Linked DNA regions of Homo sapiens: regions 1 and 3 are each linked to region 2. Evidence: promoter capture Hi-C in 16 types of primary human blood cells and fetal thymus (Javierre and others, 2016). All regions are on one chromosome and are shown on one strand. The core of a region is centred on a gene start or on the middle of the fragment in contact, and the rest is flanking DNA. Distances in the headings are between cores, read along the strand shown.

Region 1 (2,500 bases), core at 1-2,500, 3.0 Mb after region 2:
GCGTGAGCCACCGTGCTTGGCCCGGTTGGTCCTCTTAAAGCTAAAACTGATCTCATCTCCTCTCACTCCCCTCTCCCTCCCACAATTGCCATGTGTAAACCGTTCACCAGGTAAATTCCTTATCTACACATTTTCAGAATTCATTCATGGGTATAATTAGCAATAAACCTAAAATCTTTCTCAAAGCTTTTGTTATTGTGTGACTTACTGCAAAAATACAAACACAGGATGTAGAGGACTACTCCACCCAACTCTTGTAGACTCACCTATAGTTTTAAAAACACAATACTTGGTTCTAACCCTGGAGATTTCAACAGGGATGGGAAGGTAACAGCCATATACTTTTAGAGCTGTATAGGTTATCCTGACACCTCTACTGAAAAAAACCCTTGCTCTAACAGCAATTGGCTTCATACTCTTAAATGAGCTACCTATAATTTTAATACAAATCCATGTCCTAATTCTCTTTATTATTTTTTTGAGATAGGGTCTTGCTGTTGCCCAGGCTGGAGTACAGTGGCTCAATCTCTGCTCACTGCCACCTCCACCTCCCCAGTTCAAGCGATTCTCCTGCCTCAGCCACCCTAGTAGCTGGTATTACAGGCGCACGCCACCACACCTGGCTAACTTTTCTATTTCTTGGAGATGGGGTTTCGCCATGTTGGCCAGGCTGGTCTTGAACTCCTGGCCCCAAGTGATGTGCCCATCTCGGCCTCCCAAAGTGCTAGGATTACAGGTGTCAGCCACTGTGCCTGGCCCTAATTCTTTTTTGAGAGATGAAAAGCTTTACCTCCTCTAGATATTCCTAATTCCACTTTAACAATATTTTCCTAAGTTGTGGTGTTTCTATGGGACACTGTTATTTTTTCAGAAGCTGGCCTCCCCAACTCCTCAAATATCAATTTTATAAATAAAATTTATAATGAGTGCAGGATTTTTTCATCTTTATGGTCAGATGTCCATTAGATACAAGGATAGAAAAACTTCAAACTACCCAAACACATGACAAATTATAGAAATCACTGTATTCTAGAGGTATCACTTCTCAAACACAAGCTTTCTTTCTTTTTTAAAAACAGACATAGTCTCACTGTTGTCCAGATTGGAGTACAGTGACACAATCATAGCTCACTGCAGCCTCAAACTAATGGGATCAAGTGATCCTCCTGCCTCAGCCTCCCAAGTAGCTAAGCCTACTGGCATGCACTACTATGCCCAGCTCACACAGAAGGTTTCTGAGTAATCTGTTGCTCTTTTTCCCTACAATTTGTCTTCCATATAACTCAAACTGACAAGGCTATGGCTTACATAAAGAAATATATTATAAATCAACAACACTCATGATAAGTTTACATAAGACATGAGAATACACCTGAATCACCAACCGGGAAAAATGATTGAAGAGCTTGAAATTAAGCCTAAGTGTAAGTCTCTGTTAAGCTTACAACATTACAATAGTTAAATCGAAGGTTAGAAAGAAAATGGTAGACATTGCTCCTTTTCCTGTACTTACCACCATTACTTAGAGAAGTTTCTGAATAACAACAACTTTGAGCCTTTTTCATTGTTGTATTCATGGATGACACCAACACATACTACTTCTGCTTAAAAATCAAACTCATTCATCTTGACTTGTTCCCAGAAACATGACACAGAAGATCATTTTTTGAAAAAGTATTTTTGTAATTACCATCTGCATACACCTGAGAGACTGTTTCTAACATGTTTTGGTCATTTTTAATCATTCTATCTGCCTTTCTTTGTTATAAGGATCTATTTTTAATTTTATTCACTCCTAACATAGAGGGGAAGTGCATACCTTCAATGACGCAAAGTAACTAGTTAATGTTGTTTCAGAATAATATGCAAAAGGGAAGGGAGGAAACAGCACAAAGTATATCATATTTTTACACATCAGACACCTTCAGGAAGAAAGGACATTTCTCATCTTAGTGTGACAGACTCTGAAAAAGAACACACAGCACTGTTTCAGTGACACAAGAAAAAAAGTACAGTTCATTTTGAGATACTGTGCAAAATCACTCAAAAGACAATTAACTTTGGTTTCAGTCACTTAGTTAAAAAAAAAATTTATCCATGACCGATGTTACTCTGGAATCTATTGCCAGACGTCAGAAGGCCTATCATCAATAATATCCCACCCCTCCCGCCTTTTCTGAGACACGGGCTTGCTGTCGCCCAGGCTGGAGCACAGTGGTAGGATCGAGGCTCACTGCAGCCTCAACATCCCGGGCTCAAGCGATCCTCCCACCTCAGCCTCTAGTGTAGCTGCAACTACAGGGGTACACCACCATGCCCAGCTAATTTTTTTGTTTAATGTTTTTGTAGAGACGGTACGGGGTCTCCGCATGTTGCCCAGGCTGGGGTTGAACTCCTAGAATCACGCTATCTCCCCGCGTCTGCCCCCAAAGTGCTGGGATTAAAGGCGTGAGCGACCGCACCTGGCCAATATCCCCTTTGAACATCTGCTTTCGCTGGT
Region 2 (2,700 bases), core at 92-2,591:
TATCAGCTTTGCATCCTTTGAGAGTCACCAGATTGAAGCACAGTATTTTGGATTTGGCTGGCAGATGGTGTACACAGACTTTCTGAGAATGTTAGCATTTCATTTGAAACTAGCAAGATTACATGTGACTATCATGGTAACTTAGCACTCACATATTTTTCAACTTATCCCTAACCCTGGGTTGAATGTAGAGGCTCTAATAACATATAAAAGGCTTTGTTAATGTATGGTCTGGGTCTCATTGAATAGTATTTCAGGATGTAATACTTCTTTTAAAATGTCCACAGGGCAGTGTCAACGTCTTTCCATGGAAATCTGGCTCACCCAATAAGAGAAAAGAGGCCAAAGGTAAGAAAGACTAAACCAGGGGAGATGGCAGGCAGTGATGTCTGGACTGTTTGAATGGGACTTCTCCATTTACCGCCCCTCTCACTTCCTTCTATGGTCTGGACCTTTAATCACCACAGCAGTCAGCCATGTAGGGTCAAGCTAATCGCTGTTGACATCATCCTACTACTTCCCTTTTCAAATTCCAGTGAAGCTATGTGTTTCCTGTCCTATTCCACACCCTAGAGAATGAATACCGGCCAGCTAGTATCTAAATTTAGAATGGCAGCAACGTGTCGGGTTTTCGGAGTAGAGATAAACAAAACCAGGTGACATTTCCAAGCCTCTCAAGGAAAGGGGGGAAAAAACCTTTCTGGGGTAAGTAAATAAGGAGAGCTTCAATAGTTCCATGGTAGAGAGAGGCCTGCTGGAAGGTTCAGAAAATAGGCCGTTTGGAACCTTCTCCTTTAAGCCAGGAGGGCGGCTTTGGGAGGCGTCTTGAAATACATTCTTGACTCTGCTGGGAAAGCTCGGGGAGCCAGAGGCCTAATACCCCCCACTTCAGGGGAAGCTGTGAAGGCAGCTGCACCTCCTTTGTCAAGCTGTTGGTTTCAACCACAGACACGAGGACACACTTGAGGTGGGGGGATAAGGGGAGAAGCCTGCCGCCCCGCCCCACCCCCGCCAGCACACCGCCCTCGCCATTCCTCTCCCGCCCCGCCCCGCCCGGCGTCTGTGACCCCGCGGGCCGAGCCTCAGGCGACCTGTTGGCAGGGAGAGTCACGTGATGCGCCGGCTGTGCACTCCCCTCGGGCGGGCCTCCTGTTGCGCCCGCCTGGCGAGTTCCATCACGTAACGCGCGGGCGCCGCCCAGCTCTTCCCTCGCTGAGCGAGGGAGGGCGGGCGTCGAAGAGGAAAGGGAAGGGGAAAGGGGCGGGAGAAGGGAGGAGGGGCGGTGTCCGAGTCACGTGACCCGGGGCAGCCCGGAAAGCTCCGAGGAGGAGCCTGGCGCCGCCATTTTCCTGCAGCTGCCTGTTCCTCTTACCCTGCCCGGCTCCAGCTGACCCGGGAAGGGGTGGGCTGAACTGAGGCGGGGGCAAGGGAGTGCCCGACATCTTGTCCGACTCCGCGGGTGACACGAGCCGGTTCTCTCTGGACTGGTGGCAGCGCGCGGCCCCGAACCGCGCCCCAGGCCGGCAGGCGGGGAAGGAGCCGGTGGGGGTAGGGGGTGCGGTGGGGGGTGGGGACCCTCCGGCTCTTGGGGGTCCCAGTCCCCGCCGGCTGCTGAGCGGGTGGGGTGGTGGAGGAGCTGCAGAGATGTCCGGCCAGAGCCTGACGGACCGAATCACTGCCGCCCAGCACAGTGTCACCGGCTCTGCCGTATCCAAGACAGTATGCAAGGCCACGACCCACGAGATCATGGGGCCCAAGAAAAAGCACCTGGACTGTGAGTGAAGCCGACCGCGGCCCCCGCTCCCCGGCGCCCGCGCGACCCGCGCGCGTCCTTCTCTCTCTCTCTTGTCTTTCACCCTTCTACTGCCTCTTCCCTCCCTGCGTCTTCTCTGGCACGGCCGGTCCTGTGCCCGTTGAGCTGTGTTCTTTTGCTTCCATCACACCTGCCTTCACGGCCTCCGCTCCCCGTCTCAAAATCTGACAAGCCACTCCCCTCCCTATTCCTAGGGGACCCTCGTCTCCCTGCCCGGTGCGCTACCACACCCCATCATACCCAACCAACTTGCTTCCCCACCTGGCTTCTCACCCCCTACCCGTCTCCACTGCAGCCTTCTGCTCTTCCTTCCCACCCGTCCGGTGCCGCCTCGTCGCCCTCGTCTGAGCGTCTCCAAGCCCCATTGTTTCTTCATCAGCCTCCTTCGGGTTTCAGTAAACGCCTGGTTCCTTGCATCCAGATCCTTGTTATCCCTCCGGGCTGCCTCCCTGGAAGGGATCCCCCACTTCCTTTGCTCCACTAGCTGCTTCGCCCATCCCTTCCTGGCTTTCTGTTCCACCTTCCCTCCTGCTTTTGGGTTACCTTTTCATCGCCTCTATAGTAGCTTCAGTGTAGTTTCTTCGACTCATTTTAAATACCATACCCAGTTACCCGACTTTTATTTCAGATTACCTTCTTTGTGGGAGTGAAAGTAAAAGGATTCAATTTGGTGTAGGGAAAGCTTTCTGGAAAGTTGGGATTTTTATTTGCCTCTGGTGGAATTTAATCGTTGTGTTGTCCATACTTTTGACTGGGGTGAGTTTGTGACTGTCAGCTCTGCCCCCCAGCTTTTCACATGGGGATATGGAAAAAGGCATTTTGCTGATACTCTTATCAGTTCCTGGAACTGTTAATTCTGGCGGCTTGAATTCAGAAGCTTGAGTGTT
Region 3 (2,700 bases), core at 45-2,544, 2.3 Mb before region 2:
CATGGATAGAATGAAGCCAAAGGCTATCCATGACAATGAAATTAAAAACCCCAGAGGCATTTCTGGGATCTTTGAGGCTGCCCCTTCCTCATAGGCCCTGAGCTCTAAGAGGGCAGAATAATTCCGGGGATGGACTGCTGCCCAGGGCTGCTTTGGGTCTCTACTCCCTGCGTTCCAGCACACTGCTCCTCAGCGCCCCCAGCTGTGGTTCAAGCAGCCACAGGTGCAGATTAACCTGCAGCTCTAGGATGTACAAGTGGTAAACCATGGCAGTATCCATGTGGTACTAATTCTGCAGGTGCATAGAATGCAAGAGCTGTGGAGGCCTGGCAGCCTCCACCTAGATTTTGAAGAATGTGTTGGACTGTCTGAGGGTAGAGCTACTGCAGAGAGCTTCCACTAGGGCAATACGAAGTGGAACAGTGGAACTGGGGTTGTTGCATAGAGCCCCCCTAAGGGCAATGCCTAATGCAGCTGTAAGAGCCAGACTGCCACCAGGACCCCAGAACAGTAGAGCCACCAGCAGCATGCAATACCTGCCTGGGAAAGCTGAGGGCACCAGGGTGCCTTGAGGCCTCCTGAAATACCCCATCCCCCAATGTGCACAAGATGCTGTACATGGAATCAAGAAAGATTATTCTCCAGCCTTAAAATTTAAGTCTTCTCTGCTGAGTTTTTGACTTGCTTGGGCCTGTTACTTCTTTCTTCTGGCCTGTTTGTCTCTTTTGGAAAGGGAGTGTATACCTTATACCTGTCCCACCATTGTATCTAGGAAGTAGATAACTTGTTTTGATTTCACAAACTCCCAGATGACACTTTAGACTTTTGAGTTGGTGCTGGAACAAATTCAGTCTTTTGGGACTACTAGGATGGAATGACTGTATTTTGAATTGTGAGAAGGCCATGAATTCTGGGGGTCAGGGACAGAATGCTGTGGTTTGAACATAGGTTGTCCCCCAAAAGTCATGTGTCGAGAGGTGGGACCTTTGAGAAGTGATTGGCAGTGCCCTCATGAATGGATGAATCTATCATGGGTTAATAGATTAATGGATTATGGAATTATCAAGGATTAGTTATCATGAGGGTGGGTCTGTAATAAGCACTAGTTTGGCCATCTCTCATGACCCCCTTTGCCACGTGATACCCTGTACTACCTTGGGATTCTGCAAAGAGTCTCAACCAGCAAGAAGGGCCCCCTTCGATGGGGCCTCTTGACCTTGGACTTACCTGTCTCTAGAACTATAAAAAATAATTTTCTTTGTTTTAAATTACCGAGTCTCAGGTACAGTTCTAGCAACAGAAAACAGACTAAGACAGATGCTGATGTCCCTGGTCCTAGGCTACACTTTGAGAACCACTGCCAAGTAATGCTGCCTCTCTGTAAACCTGCTTTTAATGATGGGAGCCTACTGACAGACCATGTTTTGCACATAAGCTCACTTTTGTTTTATATAATTTTAACATATACTGAATTTTTGGGAATGCAACCTCTTGATAAACCTTCAACAGAAAATTCTACTTTGTTCTCCTGGGAATTTGACCAAGAATTGTCCAACATCAACAACTTTGGTATGGTGTTTGAGTGATTAATTGATAAGGTATTTGAGTTATAACTCATCAGAAATCATTTGTGCTCTCAGAAAAAAGTTCCTATCACATTTACCACGATTCTACAATTTTACATAGAAGTGAAACCACCTTTGCAAAAATTACAACTGTGAAAGAAATCAGACCTAATCGACTCCATCTTGCTTCTAATCTTTAAGCTGTCCTTTTTCATTCCTGGGCATAGGTGGAACAAACTTTGGGAAGTAATTCAGTTCATGGTTTGACTCTGAAACAAAATTGATAATAGCCCTTTCCCAAAAAGACTCCCTTCTTGCCTGGGGACCAGTCTGCCTTCGCAGGACTAACAAATTAGCTACAAGATTAGAAATTACAGTTTAGGGGTCATGTGGCCTCTGGCTCCAAGAGTCTGCACCCTCCCACCCTCCAAGTTGCTTCTGGGGATAACATCTCTATTGTAAAATCTAAGATCAGTGCTTGAGATATTTTACAGACCCTGCACTCCATAGATCAGCTGACACCACTGAGACCAGCAATCTGGCTCAACCATATCTGCCATCCCACCCAGGAACAGAAGATAGCAAGAAAAACTCACTTAGACCCCCTATGATTCCATCTCCAACCTAACCAATCAGCACTCCCCACTTCCCAAGCCCCTACCCACCAAATTATCTTTGAAAACTCTGATCCCTGAATGCTCGGGGAGACTGATTTGAGTGATAATAAAACTCCCGTCTCCCCCACAGCCGGCTCTGTATGAATTACTCTTCCTCCATTGCAATTCCCCTGTCTTGATAAATTGGCTCTGTCTAGGCAGCAGGCCAGGTGAATCCATTGGGTGGTTACAGAAGTGTGAAGAGCAAGTATCTGAGTGCCTCATTATGTTTTCCAACACAGTCATACTTGAACATTTTACATGATGGGATATAACTTATTATACTAGAAATATATTTAAAATATCTGATTTCTTCTTTATATTACATTTGGCATTACATTTCTTTTTATTAAGTGTGTAAGCAGTTTATATATTAATTTCATTTCAGAAAGTAAAGGATTTGGGGTCTGATCAGTTTGAGAATCAATTTTTTGTGTGTGCGTGGAATGGAGAGTTAGTAGTTATTTTTGAGAGAGAAC

Evidence for each region. The method cuts DNA at HindIII sites, captures the fragments that hold promoters and counts their contacts. A CHiCAGO score of 5 or more calls a contact.
Region 1: a fragment that was not itself captured here is called in contact with the fragment with the promoter of PICALM in region 2 in 1 of 17 cell types (total B cells); the score reaches 5.3 in total B cells.
Region 3: a contact is called between a fragment that was not itself captured here and the fragment with the promoter of PICALM in region 2, in 1 of 17 cell types (neutrophils). The highest score is 5.6, in neutrophils.

What each region holds. Positions count from the first base shown.
Region 1 is chr11:83,072,767-83,075,266 of GRCh38, reverse strand. It overlaps RAB30-DT (RAB30 divergent transcript), which reads right to left. Exons shown (of 3, transcript NR_038903.1): 2 at 2,463-2,500; 3 at 1,555-1,964. The region is part of intron 2 of LINC02951 (long intergenic non-protein coding RNA 2951); the gene reads left to right. Among named protein-coding and RNA genes, the nearest start is that of RAB30-DT, 2.0 kb to the right of the region's middle. The HindIII fragment of the contact is 384 bases long and covers 1,059-1,442 here.
Region 2 is chr11:86,067,725-86,070,424 of GRCh38, reverse strand. It overlaps PICALM (phosphatidylinositol binding clathrin assembly protein), which reads left to right and starts at 1,341. Exons shown (of 20, transcript NM_007166.4): 1 at 1,341-1,774. The coding sequence starts at 1,645. It overlaps LOC124902731 (a long non-coding RNA gene), which reads right to left and starts at 501. Exons shown (of 2, transcript XR_007062823.1): 1 at 1-501. RefSeq lists silencers at 827-1,096, 1,247-1,416, 1,557-1,606, 1,677-1,726 and enhancers at 352-1,551, 1,291-1,992, 1,993-2,695. The HindIII fragment of the contact is 7,123 bases long and covers 1-2,497 here.
Region 3 is chr11:88,339,594-88,342,293 of GRCh38, reverse strand. All of the region lies in intron 1 of LOC101929174 (a long non-coding RNA gene), which reads right to left. Among named protein-coding and RNA genes, the nearest start is that of CTSC, 3.2 kb to the right of the region's middle. The HindIII fragment of the contact is 3,535 bases long and covers 1-2,700 here.